Regions from separate parts of the Homo sapiens genome. Here regions 2 and 3 are each linked to region 1. Evidence: promoter capture Hi-C in 16 types of primary human blood cells and fetal thymus (Javierre and others, 2016). All regions are on one chromosome and are shown on one strand. Each heading gives the region's core, a stretch centred on a gene start or on the middle of the fragment in contact. The rest is flanking DNA. Distances are from core to core; before and after follow the strand shown.

What was found. The method cuts DNA at HindIII sites, captures the fragments that hold promoters and counts their contacts. A CHiCAGO score of 5 or more calls a contact.
Region 2: a fragment that was not itself captured here is called in contact with the fragment with the promoter of MXI1 in region 1 in 2 of 17 cell types (naive B cells and naive CD4 T cells); the score reaches 5.3 in naive B cells.
Region 3: a fragment that was not itself captured here is called in contact with the fragment with the promoter of MXI1 in region 1 in 3 of 17 cell types (monocytes, neutrophils and total CD4 T cells); the score reaches 5.8 in monocytes.

Annotation. Positions count from the first base shown.
Region 1 is chr10:110,206,152-110,209,520 of GRCh38, forward strand. It overlaps MXI1 (MAX interactor 1, dimerization protein), which reads left to right and starts at 1,454. Exons shown (of 6, transcript NM_130439.3): 1 at 1,454-1,931. The coding sequence starts at 1,658. RefSeq lists an enhancer at 1-35 and a silencer at 1,625-1,704. The HindIII fragment of the contact is 6,685 bases long and covers 1-3,369 here.
Region 2 is chr10:109,949,478-109,952,965 of GRCh38, forward strand. All of the region lies in intron 3 of ADD3-AS1 (ADD3 antisense RNA 1), which reads right to left. Among named protein-coding and RNA genes, the nearest start is that of XPNPEP1, 28 kb to the left of the region's middle. The HindIII fragment of the contact is 1,807 bases long and covers 874-2,680 here.
Region 3 is chr10:110,490,158-110,493,199 of GRCh38, forward strand. The region is part of intron 1 of DUSP5-DT (DUSP5 divergent transcript); the gene reads right to left. Among named protein-coding and RNA genes, the nearest start is that of DUSP5-DT, 4.8 kb to the right of the region's middle. The HindIII fragment of the contact is 5,633 bases long and covers 1-3,042 here.

The sequences.
Region 1 (3,369 bases), core at 204-2,703:
GTATTTTTGGTAGAGACAGCGTTTCTCTATGTTGGTCAGGCTGGTCGCGAACTCCCAACCTCAGGTGATCTGCCCGCTTTGGCCTCCCAAAGTGCTGGGATTACAGGCGTGAGCCACTGCGTCCGGCCATCAAGAGTTTTTATGACAATGTGTATGAAGCTGCCTTTGAGTAGGGTGGCTGCATCGCACACCTCCAGGGGGCAGCATTGTCTTTGTCCTCTATATAAATGGTTCCCCTGGAGGAAAACTCCAGGTGACCTTGCAAAGTAACCATATTTAGATGGGCTTGTCATAGAGATATTTTCCAAGGAAGTGCAGAAGAGTCTTGTTCACTACATCTTGTTCCTTTCTTAGATACAAGTTACATCAGAATAGGGGACTCAGGCTCTTGCCTGGGTCTGGATTGGAAGAAAAAGAGCTTACCATGGGCCAGAGTGTGCTAAGTCAGATACAATACACAAGCATCTTATCACACATTTCAATGATGTGGAAACTTAGGCCAAGAGAGGTTAAGGGACTTGTCCAAGCTCACACAGTCTGTATGCAGCAGAGCTGGGATTTGAACCCTTTCCTATGGCACCCTAGAGCAGCCTTCAATCATCCCCTGACACCTCCAGTACTTCCCAGGGCTGGAAAGCATCCATGATTGCGGACAGCAGTGGCAGTGAAACAATGTCAGCTGGGGTAGGGGTTTTCAGAGGCAAAAGGTGGAATTCAGCTGGGGAGGGGGGTGGTTCCTGAGCTGCCACTTCTGCCTCTCAAATTAAAGGGAGCCAGGTGTGGAGGCATCCTGGTGTGAGCTTTGCACAGCTGAACCAAGGCTGGGCAGAGGAGTGTGGAGAGGGATGCTGACATCTCCTCCCACTTCTGGAAAATAACTTTGCATTTGAAGGGAGAAAGGCATGAGTAAATCTGTAACTCGGATTTGGACGGCCTGGGATTTCATTTGACTGTGTGAAGGCACACACAGGTGCCTCGCAAGTGTGTGCGTGATTACGTATGTATGTGTGTCTGTGAGTAGGAGTGTTTGTGTTGGGGGTGGGGGGATCTTCTGGTTACACACTGGTTCCCTTCTTCCCATTTGGATTGGGGAGCTTTTATTTATTTATTTTTAAGTCATAGCAGCCACCATGTATGGGGACCTAACTATGTGCCAGGCATTGTGCTGGACACTTTCTGAGGCATTATTTTTCTGTGAAAAAAGTAGTTTGTTTTTATGCAGGTGCACCCAGAGACATCAGGTATTTTTTTCCATTCCGGTTAAAAGACAGTGTTCTACTCTGTGGTAAGCCTTGGGGAGAGGCAGGGAAGCCTGCGGGGACGGGCAGGGGCGGTCCCTGCCTCGCTCGCTAGTCTCCACCTTTTATTTTGACCGGTCCGATGGCGACAGGCTCGCACTAGGACCCAGGCGCCAGAGTGCCTCCGTCTGTCCTGTAGGTTCATTCAATCTCCCATACACACAGACTCACAGCGAGACCGACACACACTCCCATACACTCACACACACAACTGCAGGCAGCGAGGCTCGGGAAGTCAGGCCGGCTTTTCGCCCCGGCGCCTTCTCTGCTCCAGCCGGCCGGGTCTCCCTGGGGGCCCGGAGCTCGGCCGGGCCGCGCAGCCCCGTTAGAGGACGAGCTCGGCGGACCCCCGCTCCTCCATGGGCAAACGCGGGCGGCCGCGCAAGGAGGCGCGCTGCGAGGGCGCGGGGCTGGCCCCCGCCGCGCCCCCGGCTGTGCCCCCCGCCGTGGCCGCGCCCCAGCCCCCGGCCCTGCCCGAGGACCCCGCTGGGGCCAAGCCCAGGTGCCCCTTCTCAGACATTTTCAACACCAGCGAGAACTCGATGGAGAAGCACATCAACACTTTTCTGCAGAACGTGCAGATTCTGCTCGAGGCCGCCAGCTACCTGGAGCAGATCGAGAAAGAAAACAAAAGTAAGTTTGGGGGCCCCTGCTCTTCCTCGGCGCCCGGTTCTTTCTTTCTCGCCCACTTGGGCGACCCCTGTTGCGAGCTCGGCCCGTCCCCCCCCCGCCCAACATACACATCCAGCCCTTGGCAGTAAAGCCGATGACACCGGAGAAAGGACACGCACGCACAAAGCTGCTAAAGATGTAACAAAGACGGGCGAGGGGGAGAGGGGCCTGTCGGTGCGTCGGTCTGTCCTCTCCGGCGGGCTGGGGCTGGGAGGATGGCCCAGCGGAGGAGCGGGGGAGTGTTGTTGTTTGCTGACAACTGAGCCGAGAGCTCATCTCTTTGAGGTCGCTTTTCTTCCTTTTTTTTTTTTTTTTTTCCGGAGCCTTCTCAGGCAGACAAGTGTTGTTTTTCTGTTGCTCGTTCCTGGGTGGGGTGGGGATTAGAAGCCGAAAGTTGGAAACCATAGGCAGAGCTCAGAGGTTCCAGAAAGAAAACACACAGACACACACTACAACAATAACAACCAAACAGCTCTCCACGGCGTGGGCTCGGCTCTGTCTCTCTCTCTCCCTCCTACTTCGCCTTTTTCCTTCCCTCTAGCAGCAGGACTGGGCTCAGGCCATCACGTCTACGGACACAGTCCCCCTGCACGTCCGTTGCCGTGGGGTGCCACCGCCGCCCCCCCCCCCCCAAAGAAGGAGGCCGGCGGGGCCAAGCAACGCCAGCAGCTCGCCCCGGACACGCCGTCCTGAGCCCGGGAAACTTGGCCGTGGGGACGCGGCTAGAAGGAAACTTTGGGATCTTTGAGAAACAATAGTTGGGGAAGAAGGTGTGGGCTGTTCTGTGCTTTTTCTTTATTTTCCGGGAGACGGCTCTTGAGTGAGCGCACAGGGCAAGCAAGGCAAACGCCTTCCTGGTCGATTTCTACTCCCCCCACCCGCCCACCCCCAGATTCACGTGGATAGTAGTGCGTGGGTGGGGGTGTGCTGGGAACCCCACCCTGGCCTGGCTTCTTTTTTGTATTTATTTGTTTCATTTTTGCCCCTACCAGCCAGGTCACCCAGCTTTCCCCAGGCAGTCGACTCAGCGCCCTAACGGGGGCACGCGTGTGCAGCGTATCCAGCACCGTCCTCAGAATAATAGCTGTGAAAAGGAGGAAGGGAACTAGGCAGACAGACCGACAGATAGGGGGAAACCGGGATGTTTAATGTGTCCGAACAAGTAGGAAGATCAATGAGGCGCGAGTGTGTGTGTGTACGTGTGCGCGTGTGTGTGTGAGAGAGAGAGAAAGAAAGAAGAAAGGTCCCGATTGCAACGTGTCAGATCTTGCAACCTTCCCCCCACCCAACACAACAACCCTCAGACACAAAAACACCATTGCTGACTGATACCCCAGGTCTTCAGGGTTAAAGGAACCGTGTGTTGGCAGCGCAATTGTGCAGACGCTGTAAGGCCAAA
Region 2 (3,488 bases), core at 527-3,026, 260 kb before region 1:
CTTCCCTCCCCATAGAGCAGCTTGTTCAGGACTTCTACGACTTCATGAATTGTATTTACTGTTTTTTTCTCTCTATGTATCTTTTGGCTTTTTTCTTCCTACCAACTGATTCTCTCACTCTCTCTTACTGATTATTCTCTTACTCTCTGACTACTGAGGGAGAACCTCTGATTTGGTTCACTTAAACACTATTTCCCTCTAGTGCAAAGGTCTTGCACCAGGCTACTTTTTAGACTATGGGCCAACCTATGCACTAGCTGACCTTGGGTCAAGTGCTCACTCCTGATCCAATTAGCTATGACGTTGGGGATGGGGTAGGGGTGGGGTCCTATGGGACACAGCATGACCACCTACCTGTGCATAAAGAGCTTAAGGCCATTTCCTCAGCAAGGAACTGTAGGTGTAGGGTTGCCAGATAAAAAACAGGATACACAGTTAAATCTGAATTTCAGATAAACAGTGAATAATTTCCTAATAGAAGTATGTCCCATAGATGGCATGGGACATGCAAATATTATTTATTGCTAAGCTGAAATGTAAATTTGTTGCTAAGCTGAAATGTAAATTTAACAAGGTGTCCTGTATTCTTATTTGCTAAATCCAGCAACCCTATATAAGGGGAATTATTAGAAGAACTTGTAGATATCCCTCGAAGGCTTGGCCAGTTCAAAAAAGAAAGGAGGTAGGAGAACCAAGGCCATGGATGCAGAGAAGGACATCCAAACTAGTCATCAAAATCAAGAGACAGGAAGCAGGTATAGGAAGCCACAGACAATAAACCCATAGATCCAGAGAAGGAATCCATGGGTGTGAGAAGTAGGAGGAGGGTGGTCCCATGTACATGCCTGATGCACAAAACTGTTGTCCCCAGCAAGCTTGTAGGTGATCTCCATGGGCAACATGTGGGAGGGGGTTCTGGAAGACAGGCAGGCAGCAGGATTCTGCTCATGGGTTCATCCAGACAAGGGACATAACCTGTGCCTATCAATGGGAAGAGGGAGATGTTAACGACATTGTCCAATCTCCAGGACAACTTGGCTTACAAAACCATAGCACAGAGAATACAGAGCAGAAAATGTAAGCAAAAGTTCAATTGTTTCAATTAGGCAAAGGTAGCCATAGGCTGTAGTTCAGGAAGCAAGCAAGCCTCTGGGACATAAGCCATGCCATTGGGATACTGGGCTCAGATGAGCACAACTAAATTGAGGTCCTACTTCTGCAGGCTGGAGACTCCAACCAACCATCTGCCAAGATAAGGGTGGGCTCAGGAACCAAGGAAGGGTTCGATTTCCTAGCAAGTGAGGCAAAGGAAGGCTGGGCTTGGCAACTCACAGTGCTATAATTTTTTCAACTTTCACTTCCTGGGACGCTGGGGAGTCAAACCAGGCTGAACTTCCCAGAGTTGGGCCTGGACATGGAGCTGAGAGAAAGAAAGTCTGAGACCTGAATGAATGGGGAGCAGGAATCAGATTCAAAACAAAGTTTCAGCAAGGAAAATAAGGCAAGATCACAGGAGTAGTGAGGGAGACAAGGCCTAGAAAGATCCTCTCAGATAAATGTCCCTAGGGCACCTGCATCAAATCTGTGGGCAGGCAGATAGGAGTGAAATGGTTTGGGCTTTGGTTTGGTTTTTGATCATGTTGCACCACAATCCACACTTTATATACTAGTTTACCTTTACTAGGTAGGTTGCATGCTAATATTTCCTAATCTCTAATCTCTTTTATTTCATTTCTATGTTATTTAGAAATATGACTCACTACATTGATTTCATAGCCCATTAATGGGTCATACCTCATAGTTTGAAAAACATCAGCTTAGATTATATTCGATATACCTTTGGACTATTCATTTTTTTAATCACTGGCCCTTGGTAATGCCGTGTTTTGAAATGTCTGCCTTTCTCATACAACCCCTTCTCTGAGAACAGTTTCCCATTTCCCCCAGATGGGCTCTCCAAAGGCATTGAGGCTCTGGACATATGTGCCTACAACATGATGTTTCCAATCTGAGCATATCTGATTGGAGAAGAGAGGACAACTGGCCCAAAATGGACCACCAAATGTTTTCCTCCAGAAATTTGGAATTTGGCCATTGAGATTAATAGTTAGTTGGATGGTGGGTGGTCCTTGAGACAGGACTATACAACATATGGTTGTACAGGTTGTGGACTACACAACTATAGAAATTACCAGTGACAGCCAGGTGCAGTGGCTCACACCTGTAATCCCAGCACTTTGGGAGGTCAAGGTGGGTGGATCACAAGGTCAGGAGTTCGAGAACAGCCTGGCCAATATGGTGAAATCCCACCTCTACTAAAAAAAAAAAAATACAAAATAAAATTAGCCGGGCGTGGTGGCACATACCTGTAATCCCAGCTACTCGGGAGGCTGAGGCAGGAGAATGGCTTGAACCTGGGAGGCGGAGGTTGCAGTGAGCCGAAACTGCACCACTGCACTCCAGCCTGGGTGACAGAGTGAGACTCCATCTCAAAAAAAGAAAAAAAAGAAATTACCAGTGACATAGACTATAGGTAAAAGGTGCTCCCTAGGGTGGCTTAGTGTACAACCTATACAACTGTACATGACAACCCCGCTGGAGTTGAAAGTTAATTTAGTTCCAGGGCTAAAATGACTGCATTCTATCAAGTACATATGAAACAAGGTTAAAAAAAAAAAAAAGCTTTTATGATATTACCAGCTAGAACCTAAATTTATTTTAGGGAAAGAATTATCTTTGTATATGAAAGTACCATGATAAGCTGCTCAGGAAATCCTTCAATAACAAACATAAGTTGATGCCAAGACATCAGAGAAGGACAAAAGACATTCCACTGGAAATAAAGAAGAAATCTTCTCAGTTTTTCTCCTAAAATGTAGAGAAAGAGTTGAGCAATCCTATATTAGGAGGAAGCTGGTAGACCTGCCTGGAATGCCAATCTATAAGCAGTAGTGAAACCTCATTAGGATAATTTAAATGTCACCAAAAATGCAAAGAAAATTGGAAAATTTAGGCTAACAAAACTCAGAAAGAGAAGGGTACATTTTTAATGAACACTTTGATAAGCCATATGGGGTTGGGGTGAGTCCCCAGGGACATGATTGCATAAAGACAGATAGTTGTTTAAAACAAACAAACAAACAAACAAAACTCTAAAAAGGGTGGGTTGAGCAAAATCCATTTATTCTATTTTATTCTATGCATTTCTTCTATTTTAGTAAGTTGTGCATATTGGGGCCAGAGCTGAATTGCTCAGGATGACAGAGGCTGAGTGTGGTCCTTCTACTTTGCTTTGTACCCCAGGCAGGATTCTGCCTCTCCTCCAAGTAGCAATTTGAAAAAGCATCCAATTGTTAGATTTCCCAATGTACCAACTTGTTAGTCTTCCCAGAATATCCAAGGGCTTTTGATGGCTCTTGGTACAAGTAAAGGGGAAAATGACAAATAGAGGGAGAGAGAAGAATGAAAACTAAGGAGACAAGTTGGGG
Region 3 (3,042 bases), core at 174-2,673, 280 kb after region 1:
ATGCCTCCAGACACCAAAGTAGAGAAAAGGAGAGAAAGGAAAGGAAACCAGCCAGGGGCTCTCTACCCAGAGGCTACTTACATTTAATGTATAGTTCTCTCCCAGTGGCCCACCCAGGCTCTTACTAAGGAGAAAATACAATGCTCAGTTGATGGCACAGACTTCCCATTTAACAAATAAAAACCTTAAAAAAAAAGAAAAAGAAAAAAGAGGCCAGCACAGTGGCTCACGCCTGTAATCCCAGCATTTCCAGAGGCCAAGACAGGAGGACTGCTTGAGGTCAGGAGTTTGAGACCAGCCCGGGCAACACAGGGAGACTTCATGTCTACCAAAAAAACTTCAAAATTAGTGGAGCTGTGGTCCCAGCTACTCAGGAGGCTGAGGTGAGAGGAATGCTTGAGCCTGGGAGGCTGCGGTGAGCCGCGATCACGCCACTGCACTCCAGCCTGGGCAACAGAACAAGACCCTGTCTCAAAAGAAGAAAAGAAAAGGACCAAGTGGTACTAGCCATTTGTCTTCCTGGCCAGAATCTCTAGGGCAAAACAGGAGAGAAGACAAATATTCCCCTAAACTCCTCCCACCCCAGCCTACTTCCCGCCTGAGCACCATCCAAATTGGAGTCAAAGCACAGAAAGGAAGTGCTGCCTGGGGAGGCCGAAGCTGGGGGATAAAATCCTACTCCTATGCTCCAGGGATAGCCGGTGGCTACTCAAGGGAGAGGGAAGACCCGCATCTCTTTCCTTTCAGGTGTTTGCACTCTTCTATCTCTTGCTTTCTCTAATGCTGTCCAGGACACTTAGTGGCACCACTTTTTATTTTTTATATATTTTTAAAATTTATTTTATTTTATTTTAAGATGTGATCTTGCTTTGTCATCCAGGCTGGAGAGCAGTGGCGTGATCATGGCTCGCTGCAGCCTCAAACTCCTCAGCTCAAGCAATCCTCTTGCCTCAGCCTCCCAGGTAGCTGAGGCTACAGGCACACACCATCATGCCAGGCTAGCAACTATTTTTTGTAGGACCTTTGAACTTTGAGGAAATGGACATTCTCTGCTATACCCCCGGTGTCATTCAGGGATCACAAGTAAAGAGTTATGGAAAATAAGCAAAAAGTCTTCTAAGAATCTGGAAAACAGACATTGTAAGGAACAAGGACTGTTATTTTAGAAAACAGAAAGTGAGGAAGGGATAAGATTACCATCTTCAGTATTTCAAAGAGGGTCTAGGTTTACATTGCATTTTTCCAGACCTGAAAGCAAAAGTTAGAAGACACACAGAAGTCCGTTTCAGCTATGTGACCTTGGCCAACTGTAAAATAGGGACAACAGATAGTACTTACATCATAGGGTAGTCATGAGGATTAAGTGCTAAGGACATACCTAGCATCTCGTAAAATCCCAGGATACACTTGTTTCCTTTTTTGGCCTCATTCAAAAATGTCTCATGAGGCAGTCAGCTCCCCTTCTGGCAAATTTCAATGTAGAATCATAATTCCTTACTGCCAAAATTCTGAGCTTTGGTGCTGCCCATGACTTTTCATTAAAAAAAAAAAAAAAAAATAGTGGTTCACATGGAGCCCTTGCCATGCTCCAGGCACGCAGAGAAGGGCTTTATGTAGGTACTTTTTAATCTTCTCATCAGCCCTATGAGGTAGGGAGGTAGGTATTATTATCACCCTTGTTAGTTTTTTTGTTTTGTTTTGTTTTCCAGATGAGAGAATCATTGCTCACAGAAGTGAAGTAACTTTTCCAAGGTCATACAATCAGTAAGTGGCAGGCAAGGACTGAAATCCAAGTTGTTACCCTCCAAAGTCCCTGCTCTGAGAACTGGAGGAATTCTTTATCAAATCTAAAATCCTCTTTTAGGCCTGTCTGCTTTAATATTCCGGTCTTTATTGATCCTTCTCTTCTCTAAAACTTCAGCTGTCAGTATAAAAATCAAGGAATTTAGCACTTGTTATTGTGTGAACAGCTTCTTGTCTCTCCTGTACTGTAAGTGGGTCTAGGGATTTTTATTCTTTAAATATCCCCCTGTACTCAGTAGATCTTTGGGAGAACAAGCTCATAGGCTTCTAATAATTCTTTCTTTGACTGCCAGCTGAATTAGACAGAAGGTAAGTCCTGCTGCCGTGTCGTGCCTAACCCCATCTTTATTTCCTGTGCTGTTAGAGAACAGTCTTTTCTTGGCTGGAACAAATACTACAGCCTGCTCAACTAGCTAATATGTATTGAGTTCTTAATATGTTCCAAGGACTGCTCTAAGTATTTTATATATATTAACTCACTGAATCTTAAATACCCTATGAGCTAAGTCCTATTTTTATCCCCATTTTACAAAAGAGGAAACTGAATGTACCAGTGCATCAGTATTTGACTGAGTAAATGAATGACTGCTTTGCTGATGGATAGTATTATTAGCAACAACCCTACAAATATGATGTTATGTTTGCATCATGCAGTACAGCTTTATGTACCTTATGTCATTGTCACTCATGATTAGCAAATAGGCACGAACATCCCTATTTTATAGAAGAGGAAACCATGGCTCTAAGAGGGTGAGTGATTCTCAACAGTCACATGCCATCTGTATCCTTCAGTAAACAAGGTATTTGGTCCATTCCAGGATCGGGGGCAAGAGAGATGGGAGGGCCTCGGTGAGAAACACTCATATTCACAAAAGGTACTAGATAGATAGACAGATAAATAAATAAATAGAGATAAAAGCTAGTAATAGCAGAGATTTGATGGGAATTCAGATCTTTGATTCCTAGTCCAGTGCTCTTTCTTTTATGTAAGGTGATGGGAAGCAAGTCTTAGGTCCAGATCTGGCAGCTGCTTTGATTTAGGATCTTAAGCCAGAAGCAGCAGCGCCCTAAACAAAAAGCATCATTTTAACTTCTCTGCATTTCTCACATTTTCAACAATGACCATGCCCTACTTTCATAATTAAAAACAAACAAATAAACAGAGGGGGCAAAATGCATCCTTCTGAGTGGGCTGGGGCTTGTAGAGGGATTCTTGGGTTTGCTCTGGGATGTCTTTGG